3 separate regions of the Homo sapiens genome follow, and regions 2 and 3 are each linked to region 1. The links are contacts of gene promoters, found by promoter capture Hi-C in blood cells and fetal thymus (Javierre and others, 2016). All regions are on one chromosome and are shown on one strand. Each heading gives the region's core, a stretch centred on a gene start or on the middle of the fragment in contact. The rest is flanking DNA. Distances are from core to core; before and after follow the strand shown. Region 1 holds the start of PRRC1 (proline rich coiled-coil 1). Region 2 overlaps SLC12A2-DT (SLC12A2 divergent transcript). Region 3 overlaps SLC12A2 (solute carrier family 12 member 2).

Region 1 (4,343 bases), core at 1,779-4,278:
ATCTACCTTCCCGTCAACCATAAGCCCTGGCAAACACTGCTCTGTTTTCTATCACTTTCTCGTTCCATGAATGTTACATAAATCGAATCATACAGCATATAACCTTTTGAAGTTGGCTTTTTTTCATTCAACATAATGTTCTTGAGATTCATCCAAGCTGCTGCATATATCAAATTGGTTCCTTTTTATTGCTGAATAGTATTCCATTGTATAAATGTACCTGCTGAAGGACATTTAGGCTGATTCCAGTTATTAGCAATTCATATTTATTTTTTGAAAAGATCTGAACAAAGTATGCAGCCTGGGCCACTGGGCAGACAGAGCAGATGCAGACAGGCCATTAAGGAAGATATAGAAGTAGTTCCATCAGAAGTAAGTAACAACCTAGACTAATGATTTTCATAGTGGGAAGGGCTGATTATGCCCCCAAGGGGTCACTTGGCAATGTCCAAGACATTTTTTATTGTCACTACTAGAGGGCTACTACTGGCATATAGCATGAAGAGGTTAGGAATACTACTAAAAATCCTCCAATGCACAGCCTACACACAAGAATTAAGTGGCCCCAAATTTCAATAGTGCCAAAGTTGAAAAACTCTGACCTAGACTCAAGTGATGATAGTGGAGATGGAGAAAAGTAAATAAGTTCAAGACAAGATTAGGTGGCAAAATTCAGTGACTGGGTATGGAGGAAGGGAAAGGAGGCATGACTTGCACAACTAGATAGATGGTGGTGCCATGCACAAAGATAGGAAACACTGCAGAAGGCCAATGTGTTTGATGTTCTTTCTGGGGGAGTCGGATGGGGGAAATCATAAAATGTTTAGTCTTTGACATGCTGTTTAAGTTCCTTGAAACAAACATCTAAGTAGAGACACTGACTTGGTCTGGAGCTTAGCAACCACATAAATGTGGGTGTCATCAGTGTACTGATAGTCTAACGTCATGTTTTGAGATGAGATTACGTAAGAGAATACCAAGAGAAAAGAGAATATGATGTTAAACCAATTATTGGTTTAGTAAGATGGAAGACAAGTTTGCAGAGAATAAGAGATGAGCTAAAAGAAAGGAAGAAAACCAGGAGACTGTGGTGTCCAAAAGCCAGAGTTTCGCAGTATGAATGGGCAACAGTATTAATGCTGCAGAGAAGCCAAATAGGATACTATCTGAGAAGTTCAATGGATCTGCCAAACTGGAGATGAATTTAGGGAGAACGGTTTTCATATAAAGAGTGGAGAAAGATTCCAGTGTAAACTGAATCGAGCAGTGGCAGGTGAGACTAACACGCATGACACTTTCAAAAAGTTTGGCTGTGAACGTAGGAAAGATCTATGGCACTAAGCAGAGAACAGGGATCCGGGGAGGCTGAATCCTTTCATTCAGTACCTATACATCGAAGGTAAATAACCTGAGATAGAAATGCCCCTTTGGAGATTTTACCACTCCTCAACCAAAGCTCCCTCTTTTCTTCATTTAATTTTTTATTGGTCATTCACCCTCTACTACAGATGCTCCCCAATCCTTACAATGACTAGTAGAAGTCCTATTGTAAGAGAATCCCTAACATTAACAAATGTGTCTGCAAAAGAAACTGTACAATGAATACAAAGTCATTAAGTGGAATAAATAATCAATTTCTTTGTCTTTAATGGCTTTTTATATGAAAACTGCCGTAATGGCAATACTGAGGTAAATTTTACATGCATAAACATAGTGCCTTCTACTAAAAAAACCTATTATGATAAAACAATACTGAAGTGTCAGAGTTGGTAACTGTTTTAGGGCTCAAGTCTTGTCACGAAAAGTACTATTCATATATCAACACTAAAGAAAAAGTGAAGAAAATGGTTTGGAAAACTGAGTTCTCAGTCCGGCTAGACCCTGTTGTTCCAATTTGCTTGTGCCTTGGTTTTTCTGTTAAAAAAAAAAAAAAAAAGTGGATGTCTATTTACAAGTTTACAAGAAATGGAAGAGTGAAGCTCTGATAAACTTTAAAGCATTAAGAGCAATTATTGCTGACCTACTCGTGCCACAAGATTGTCTCTACTACCAAACAGTGAGCGCTAGTTAGAGCCTAATCTGACCCCGAAATAAAATTTTATAAATTTTCACTGAATTAAACACTGGCTGCACAGGAGAAAGACTGAATGCCAAGATGTGTCACGATCGCAGAAATGCACATGTTGTCTCTCAAAATAACTACTTCGAATGACAAAAACACTATTGGCTATAAATTCTGTCAATCTAGGAAACGTGCTATCTGCAAATTTGCCTGAAGCAGGTCCCAAGACCAAACAAAGAAACGAGAGAATGCAAAAACTCTCCCAAGCGGCGCTAAGCACCGATGGGGTAACCTCAGGGAAAATAAGCTTCCTTTCATTGCAGGTCCTGGTGTGATGACTCTCGAGCCTCCTGGGCCTCTCCAGGGCCAGAGCGGCCGAAATCCTGTTTCAGGAGACAGCGGCTTCCCCTCAGGCTCTGCCACGTCTCCAGGCCAGACAGGGCCGGGCTAAGGTCCGCCGGCGCTCCCGCCAGTCTCCCCTAAAGTCAGCGCCCTGGAAGGTGGGGCCAGAGCGCTCCTGCCTTGGTCCTTGGACAGGAGCAAAGTGTCGCGGGGCGAGACCCTCGAACCGCGCCCACCGTGCCATCCCCAGCGGAAACTGCTCACCTTGCGATGTGCACTCCTGCCTGCTGCACCCCGCACGCCGCCACAGCTGAGCCTGGACCACGGGACTAGGGGGCTCGCAAACGACATCGGCGTCCAGTGGCGCCGGCCGGCCCGCCCACCTTCCAGGGACACCGTCCCTCGGGGTCTGGCTCTGGCGCCTGCAAGCCATGCCATGCCATGCCACCCCCCTCATACACGCCCCTCGGAGCCACCTGGCGCTCACCTGGGGACCGGGAAAGTGCCTGCGTGGTCGCTGAAGAGTGTGGTATGATAGGGAGGTCGGGACGTAGAACTACAGCTTGGAGAAGACAACGAAGGCGCACCCTGGAAGTTACCTCGGCGTGTCCCCGCCTACAAGATGGCCACGGGCGGCGCATGCTCCTGCGGCTGCCACGTCGGCCGCGCGCCGCACCGCGCCGCGCGTCGCCGCCCCGCCCCGCTCCGCCCCGCATCGCATCGCCCCGCTCCGCCTCCGCATCGCCCCGCCCCCCCTGTCCCATGCGCTGTGAACCCGGCCGGGACGCTGCAAGTTAAACTTTGGAGCCAAGATCTTCCTAACTACCGAGACTTGGTTCTGCCCACACCCTCTAGAAACATCTTCCAAAGGGCTGGCCTCCTTTCTACTTCGCAGCCCCCTTACACGAGAGTGGCACTCTTGTTACCAGGCGTAGCTCACTCATCCTGTGCCACAGCGGCCCAAGGGATAAGATCAGTTAGCCAAGGTCATCTGGTTGGCGGTCATCTAGCCAACATCAGCTAGTCCAGTCAGCACCTCCAGGAAGGACCTCGCGGCAGATACAGGGGACTTAGCCTGTATAGTCAAAGATTTCCAGATAACAGTGATTATATCAGGAGAGAGGGATTAGGAGAAGAGGGAGAGGGGAGAAGAGTAGCAGTTACTGTACTGAATTTTTCCCCAAGTGCATGTATTGCACATTCTTTTTTTAATTGTAAAATAGACAGATTATCAACTTTCTTATTATATGCTGCACCTAACACAGTACCTGAAATAGTTGGTGTTCAATAATGTACATTAAATAAATTAATGGAGTGCGATAGAGGAAAATAAGGAACTTCAAATCAGAAGTCTTGATTTGAGTCTGAGACTACTCTAATGCCAGTTGTACAGTTGCCTGCCCTTGTACAGGTCACTTAGTCTCCATAAGTCTTCATATTTCTACCTGCAAACTGAGAATAATACTATCCACCATCCCTAAATCAGGCAGGTGACAGACTCAAATAAAATAGAGCATATGAAAATTTTTTAAACTTTTTGTCTTTTTGAGATGGTGTCTTGCCCTGTTGCCCAGGCTGGAGTGCAATGGCGCCATCTCGGCTCACTGCAACCTCTGCCTCCCGGGTTCAAACGATTCTCCTGCCTCAGCCTCCCGAGTAGCTGGGATTACAGGCACAGGCCACCACACCCAGCTAATTTTTGTACTTTTAGTAGAGACAGGGTTTCACCATTTTGGCCAGGCTGGTCTCGAACTCCTGACCTCGGCCCGCCTCGGCCTCCTAAAGTGCTGGGATTACAGGCGTGAGCCACCGCACCTGTCCGAAAACATTTTTTAAATTGCTTAGCATTAAATATATAAAAAATTGTTTTTGTTGTTCTCAATTTTTTTTCAGGAACTCACTTAGAGATTTCACATTAATCTATCTCTTGAGCTTCACA
Region 2 (4,014 bases), core at 1,147-3,646, 560 kb before region 1:
GAAAAATGAGGTGGTCCTTTAAGCAGTGCAGTTTTCTACTAGGGAATTGCTGCATTAGTAGTTGATCCGTGCAGTACCTTTCAGCTCCACAACGAATTCTGCCACTATTGGAATTCAACATTCATTTAGTTGAATAAATACTGAACAGGTACTATGAGCTACTCTGTATTTACGGGATATAGCAGTGAGCAAAACGGACAATCCCATCTCTCATGGAGTTCTTTCTAGTGAGAAAGAGAAACAATAGACAAGATAAATAGGTAAAATACATAGCATCCAAGCAGTGAGTACTAAGGAAAGGGAAATGGGATATTTGTGTGAAATGAGGATCATAAAATTTTCCATAGGATGGCCTCACTGAGAAGGTGATATTTGAGTAAGGAAGTGAGTGATATGAGTTCTTGGGAAAAAAAGTGTCTGAAGCAGAGGGAAACCAAAGACCCAAAGGCAGGAGCATGCTTAGCATGCTCACGGAATTGCATGTAAGCCAGTTTGGCTGGAACTTGCTTAAGAGATGTGAAGAATCAAAGGCAATTACATCAGAGAGCTTAGGATATGGGATGTAGTAGATCAGAATGTTTAGGACCTTTTTTGGCTGTTAGACATACTTGACTTTTTTAGTAGAATAGTGTGTTAGTCAGCTCAGGCTGCCATAACAAAATACATAGATTGGGTGGCTCAAACAGTAGAAATATATTTTCTCACAGTTCTGCCTGCTGGAAGTCTGAGATCAGAATGCCAGCATGATCATGTTCGGGTTTTCTTTTTGGCTTGCAGACAGTACCTTCTCAATGTCTCCTCAGATGATAAAGAGAGCGTTGTCTCTTTTCTTATAAGGGCACCAGTTCTGTGGAATCAGGGCTTTACCCTGATCACCTCATTTAACCTTAATTATCTCCTTAAAAGGACTGTCTCCAATACAGTCACATAGGAGTGAGGAGAGGATTCGGGCTTCAACATATTAATTTAGCAGGGTACACAACAGTCCTTGGCAGATGGCAGGTTATTGGAAGGTTTCAGTGGAGGAATGACATCTGCCATTTTTAAAGGATTCATCTAGCTGTCTTGTAGGTAGGCAAGGGATAAATGGTTGGGTCAAAGAAGCAAGGAGATGTGTTAAGAGGTATTACAGCAATCCAGGAAGTGATGATAGCGCTTTGACCACAGTGGGTATCAGTGGAAATGGGGAAAAGTAGTTGAATTCTGGGGAAACAATAGAATTTGCTGATGGATGTGAAGTGTGAGAGTCCAAGGGTTTTGACCTCAGCAACTGGAAGAATAGTATTGCTATTTTCTGAGATGGCAAAGGAGGTTAAAGGAACAGGTTTGGGTTGGATGAATATCAGGAGCTTAGTCTGAGATGTCTGTTGGAAGAAACACACAAATGTGTATTAATAATAAATAGTAGTCACTCATATAAATTTGTAACTGCAAACAGAAGTTCTAGGGGATAGGAACGTAGTATAAGGAAAATGCAAAATAGGCCAGACTTAGTCAAGACAGAAGTGACTTTTTAGCAAAGGTCTAAAGGAAAATTAGGACCAAATTGTCACTAGAGGGTTTCCAACAAGGGAAATATTGTGGACAAATGCCCTCATGGAGTGAGCAGGGACTATCAAAGAAGCAAGAAGCTTGAAATCAGTTTGGTTAAAGCATAGGGAAGGATTGGGGGCAAAAGTAGTAAGAGATGTGTCTGTATTCTAAAAGCCCTATAAAAGCATTAATGGGTTTCTGGATAGATTGAGGGGCACATAATCAGATTTGTGCTTATTAAAACTCTCTAGGCCTGGCAAGGTGGCTCACACCTGTAATCCCAGCACTTGGGAGGCCAAGGCGGGTATATGGCTTGAGCTCAGGAATTCGAGACCAGCCTGGACAACAATAATGAAACCCCATCTCTACCAAAAAAACCCACAAAAATTCAAAAATTAGTGGGGCGTGGTGGCACGCACCTGTATTCCCAGCTCCCTGGGAGGCTGAGGTGGGAGGATCACTTGAGGTGGGGGTTGTAGTGAGCTATGATTGTGCCACAGCACCCAGCCTGGGCGACAGAGTGAGACACTGTCTCAAAAAATAAATAAATAAAAATAAAACTAGTTATATTATGAGCAGAAGAGTGGAGAAGAGGAAGAATAAGCATGGAAAGTCAGGACACAATTTCACTAATCTAGCTGTGAGTTGATAGTAGTAATAGTAGTTAGCCTTTATAGAGAATTTAGGTCCTGGATACTGTGCCAAAATCTATACATTCATAATCTTACTGAATTCTCGCAACACTATGAAGAAAATCATAAGATTACATCCATTTTACAGATGAAAAACTTGGTTAAGGAAAAAATAAGTAATTCCAACATTAATGAGCACATAAAAGACCTACAAAGGTCAGGAGGTGAGAAGAAAATCAGATGAAGGCATTTGAAAACAGGATCAGCTGTGTTAAATTGGGCCAAGAGGCAGAGAAAAATGAGTTGAATATATATTGACTTTAGTAACATGTATTAGCCAACAAAATGAGAGAGCAATGCAGTGAGGGGAGGGCCACAAACATTCCAGGAAATATCAAAGTGTATTATGTGAAACTTATGAAAAATTTATCAGGAGAGATCTCCTTTACTTAATTGTTGGCAAATATTTCATTGTCAGACTTACCAGGTGTCAGTTTAGAGACTAACCTTGAGAACAGACTTGCTATCAGTGCCGTGGTGGGAACCTGACTGATTTTGCTGTATTTCCTTTTTGCCACAAGGCCAGCCTTTGACATTGTGTGTGTCTGAGTACTTACTAATATTTATTTCATGTAGTTGGAATTTTAGGATTAGAAGTGACTTGCGTAGTTGTTTTCCAAACTTCTCAATTCACAAATGCCAAAGTATCCTAAAAGAAGATATAAATTATGTTAGACCTACAACTTCTCATATCTGCAGCATCAGAGCATGTGAAGTGCAAAGCCATGTAGAACCTTTGAAATCAGCTCTCTTTTCCTTTTTTTTCTTACAGTGAGTTTTAGTTAGACATGCTGTGCTGACATTCTGCATGGTTGTGGCTTTGCTGTTTTATTAGATGGCATTCAGAGTACAAATTGAGTAAATGGTATTTCCCTTGAGAAATAATGTGATTATTCTGTTACAGAAAAAAGAAAAAAGTTACCCTAAAGAAGCTTTTTTATAGGCCTAGCACAGTAGCTCATGCCTATAATCCCAGCACTTTGGGAGGCCGAGGCAGGCGGATCAGATGAGGCCAGGAGTTCGAGACCAGCCTGGCCAACATGGGGAAACCCTGTCTCTACTAAAAATACAAAAATTAGTTGGGTGTAGTGGTGCATGTCTGTAATCCCAGCTACTAGGGAGGCTGAGGCATGAGAATTGCTTGAACCCGGGAGGCAGAGGCCTCATTGAGCCGAGACTGCGGCACTATGCTGTAGCCTGTGCGACAGAGTGAGACTCTGTATCCAAAAAAAAAAAAAAAAGAAGAAGCTTGTTTTTTTTTGTAAGAAACAAAGCTTGTTTATGTAAAAAAAAAAACAAAAAACTTGTTATGTAGTAAATGTTATAATTTTGCTTTCTTACCTAAGTCCCGGTCACCTTCTTCTTTAATTAAAAATATTATAAAGATTTTAGTCAGTCATAGAATTAAACATTAATTGAAATTGTACTGTGCTTTTCCTCTAGACAATATATAAATTCATATTTGTAAATTATGTCTTTCAAAAGAGACAGCTCAAGTTTTTTGCTTACCCAGGTAGTAAATTCATGACAAATGCATTTAAAAAACAGTCTTTCTTTCTTATCCCTACTTTTGTCTACACATGTTTGTTGTAAAGCTATTCAAAGAAATCTTTTCCAATTTAAAATCTGTATTAGAAAAGTTATTTGTGATTACTTTTGTACTTCTAACTATACAGGCTGTGGATATTTGCAAACTTCAAAGTTCAAAATTGTTATCAAATATTAATATTTGAAGGAATTACTTGTATATAATAGCTTAGTGATTACACACATGGACTCCAGCACCAGA
Region 3 (3,824 bases), core at 116-2,615, 660 kb before region 1:
TTGCACGATGAAATAATATGGCTACCAAACCACACTGCTCCATAACTCTCACCTCTATCTCCTTCTCATAAAATTCATGTATGTTGACATGACTGTGTATCTCCCAAACGCAGCACGACTGTGAGAAATATTGTAATTTTTGAAATGAAAAATACATTAGTATCAAAATTGAGGACTTGGCTGGGTACAACTGATGGTAAAGAATGCAAGTGACACTGCAAATAAAACCTATTTCAGTGTCCCTACTTATCATCTAAACCATGCAGTTTAAATTAAAAAAAATTAATACCGGCTGTCTGGGTCTAATATTTCAGAAATGCTGTGATAATAGAAAAGAATTTGTGATATAACTCCATTTCCTGAGAATATTTAACTTTTTAGTTAGACTAATAATAATTTTTCTAATCTGCATTTATAGAACTGTAACATTACCTCACCATGGAAATAAAAACCAAGGTTAAAAAAAAGGGAATAAGGTTGGAGTTAAAGAGTTTACAGTATGAAAAAGGGTTTAAAATAAAATGATGAAAAATGCCTGCCTTTTTTCAACAGTGGTTGAGTTGCAGTCTTGCCATCCTCTTCCTCAACTAGATTATGTTTAAAAAACACAAAAATATGTTAATTGCCTTTATATTAATAAAATAATAAAAATGTAATCAGAGCACATTTATAAACAAAATATAATATGAAGCAGCAGTCCACTGAAAAATAATCAAGACTGAAGATTAATATTTTCTGCACTGAGTGTTGAAGCTTTTAAAAAGCAAACATATTTGAGACCCCTCCCCTACAGGATGACTAACACCCCTAAATTTAATTTCTGTAAAATTACTTTTTAAATTTCAGCATATTTTTAAAATGTTTACACTTTCATACTTGAAATAAGTTGAGAAGATGTTGAACTGTGGCTTATAGGTATAAATATGACATTAAACATTGATATTGCAGATAATACATAAATTTTAAACATGCCATCACTGTGCAAATAACTGAACAGCAATTTTAGAAACATTTAATGGATATTTGTTGTTTGTAAAAAATTAATCACACTTGAAATATTAAGAAATTTGATCAGAGACATAAGTATTTTGCTTTATATAAAATGCCAGGTTATACAGGAGTGATTTTTCTCACATATATAAATTTATATATGTATGTATATACGTGTGCATTAATATTTATCCATTTATATTTAAAAATATCTACAAATATATCTGGCATTAACAATTTTCCTAATCTCATTTTGTTCCCTTAATACAAGCTTGTATTAAAATATTTGTTTATGGCATATAAAACTCTGGACTTAGGAAAGAGTATACTACAGTGGGCTCTGGAGTTAGGCTGCAAGATTGCAATCTTACCTCTACATTTATATTCCCAGGAGTTAAAACAGCTGAGTAAACTTTCATTACTGAACTTGCTTTTCTCATTTGTCGAAAGAGGTATTAGTACCTACCTCTTAAGCTTGTTATACTAATGCAAGTATTAATGCACTGAACTCTGGGCCTGGCAGAAAGTATTTGAAGGGTGTTCTTTTTGACTTCTTGCATGATGTATGCTTCAATAACCAAGATAGACACAGCTAAATACTGTGGATTTATAACAACTACACACTAATGTCTCTAATTCTGAAGACTTTTTAAAATGTATAAACGTTTCTATAGTATCTACACTGTTGACTGAGAATAACTGACTAAACAGAAAATAAACACAAAATAAAGCAAACACTAATTTCTTAAACTTGTAATGGAAAAAGAATCATTAGATTTAATATTATAGCATTCAATATTGTTCTTATAAAGCAGACATTTAATGGCATTTGTCTTTGATAATAAAAATTATAACTACGGATATGCTGCATTTGTTTAAAAGATCTCAGAAATGTCAAGGAAATCTTGACATTTAACAATTATAAAGTAAGTTAAAGGCATTTAGATTTTTACAATAAAAAGGTAAGTAGAAATGTACTGACCCAGTTTCCTGTTCTATAAAAATAATGATTTCATAAGATCGTAACATATATTAATTAGCTAATGTATGGGTAACATCCATTATAATGTTGGGTGCACGGAGTAGATGCTTGATATGTATTTCTTCTTACCCTCCCATTAAACTTCACCTATTAATTCCCAACAGATTCTGTAGAAAAAGAATGTTTGAAGCAAAAGAAAAAAACAAAAAAGAGGAAATGAAAGAATGTATAGTGTAAACTAAAATAAATGCTGGAATATAGGAACAGTTATCAGAATCAGTTTATAGAATTTTGAGGAAAAACAAAATAAATTATAATCAAGTCAGCAAAGAACTGAAAAGGAAAATGGGTGTGAACTAAACTTTACTAATACTCTAAGCCAACAAGGTAAATGAGAAGGAAAGAAATAAAAAGCAACATTACTGCTTCTAAATAATATAGAAGAGATAAACTGTACAGAGACATGATTGGTCCAAGGTTACAATTTCAGAAAAAGAATGGGAAATATTTTGCAGGAATCAAAAGTATGTTACAGTTTGATGATTCACAGCGCAGATTATTTTCTTGTTGCGTGTCAGCTGGGAATAGGACAGATGGAGATACTAGACTGAACAGAGGTAGGAGAGTGAGGGTGGGAGAGTAAGATTTGGAAGTCATCCCTCTTTTCTTCTCAAACATGACACAGATTTGTGGATGAAATTATGTGAAAGTCATGAGTTTGTTACTTTAAAATTACCATGTTCTTTCCAAATTCAGATTTAACTTATGCTTCAAATTAAAATGTTTTATTTAAAGCAACTATAAATAAAAACACAGAAGCCATATTAGTAAATAACTAGCATGGTTTCTGTTTGATGATCTACTCTAATACCTTACACAGCTAGTCATTTTGTAGCCATTTTTGAAAGCCATAAATTTTACCTGACCAGCTAGAAATGACCAGTACAAGTTTGAGAACAGGTTATTTTTATAAGACATATTATATAATTAAAAATATTTCTCCCAAATTAAAACATTACTATTAATAAGACTTATTGTTTGAATGAAAATTACCTTTGTGTGTAATTGGTTTTTCACTGAGTGGTTTGGAAGTATCTAAATCGGACTTTTTACTATATTCCACACTTACTACCACATCCTTGGTGCCAGGAGATTTCTCTTGTGATGACAATAATTCTTCTGTAGACAGAAAATTATTTAAAATAGTATCTAAGTCATATTTTAACTGTTAAATAAGGCATTATGGTTTAGTAATTAAACTATTATGAAAAAATAAGTTTATTATAAATGGCTTCTTATTTAAACAACTATGATAATCTGTTTGAAATGACTATTCATTTAAATACATAAACCACAACTAGGTTACAGGTTGAATATCCTGATCTGAAAGTCTGAAACTTTTTACATGCCTAACATGATGCTCAATGGAGCATTTCAGATTTGGGATTTCTGGATCAGAGATGCTCAACTGGTAAGTACTATGTAATGCAAATATTCCAAAATCAACCTCTCCCCGTCCAAATTCTGAAACTCTTCAGGTTCCAAGCATTTTGGATATAGATACACAAACTGTATTTGAATTACGAGCTGGAGAATCAGTAATGAGTACAAGTCATAGGACAGTAGAATCTGGTAGACAGTAATACATAGTATGTGAATCAATTCTCTCTAAATCAATTACATAAAAAATGTAAAATGTAACAACTGTCCATAGATACGTAAGATGACAGACAACACTGAAAAACTCTACCCACTCTATAAAACCAAGACCACCAAATGGAGTCTTCCTAAGTTCATGGTGAAAGTACCATTTCTCCATTTTAAAGTAGTTTTTCTTCATTTTCTCTTTGTC

What was found. The method cuts DNA at HindIII sites, captures the fragments that hold promoters and counts their contacts. A CHiCAGO score of 5 or more calls a contact.
Region 2: a contact is called between a fragment that was not itself captured here and the fragment with the promoter of PRRC1 in region 1, in 6 of 17 cell types (non-activated CD4 T cells, fetal thymus, total B cells and 3 more). The highest score is 6.2, in non-activated CD4 T cells.
Region 3: a fragment that was not itself captured here is called in contact with the fragment with the promoter of PRRC1 in region 1 in 1 of 17 cell types (total B cells); the score reaches 7.2 in total B cells.

Annotation. Positions count from the first base shown.
Region 1 is chr5:127,516,325-127,520,667 of GRCh38, reverse strand. It overlaps PRRC1 (proline rich coiled-coil 1), which reads right to left and starts at 3,028. Exons shown (of 9, transcript NM_130809.5): 1 at 2,892-3,028. RefSeq lists an enhancer at 2,851-3,030 and a silencer at 3,091-3,160. The HindIII fragment of the contact is 4,735 bases long and covers 2,372-4,343 here.
Region 2 is chr5:128,077,775-128,081,788 of GRCh38, reverse strand. All of the region lies in intron 1 of SLC12A2-DT (SLC12A2 divergent transcript), which reads left to right. Among named protein-coding and RNA genes, the nearest start is that of SLC12A2-DT, 3.4 kb to the left of the region's middle. The HindIII fragment of the contact is 1,526 bases long and covers 1,634-3,159 here.
Region 3 is chr5:128,173,868-128,177,691 of GRCh38, reverse strand. SLC12A2 (solute carrier family 12 member 2) reads right to left here. Exons shown (of 27, transcript NM_001046.3): 20 at 3,026-3,151; 21 at 540-587. Among named protein-coding and RNA genes, the nearest start is that of SLC12A2, 92 kb to the right of the region's middle. The HindIII fragment of the contact is 203 bases long and covers 1,264-1,466 here.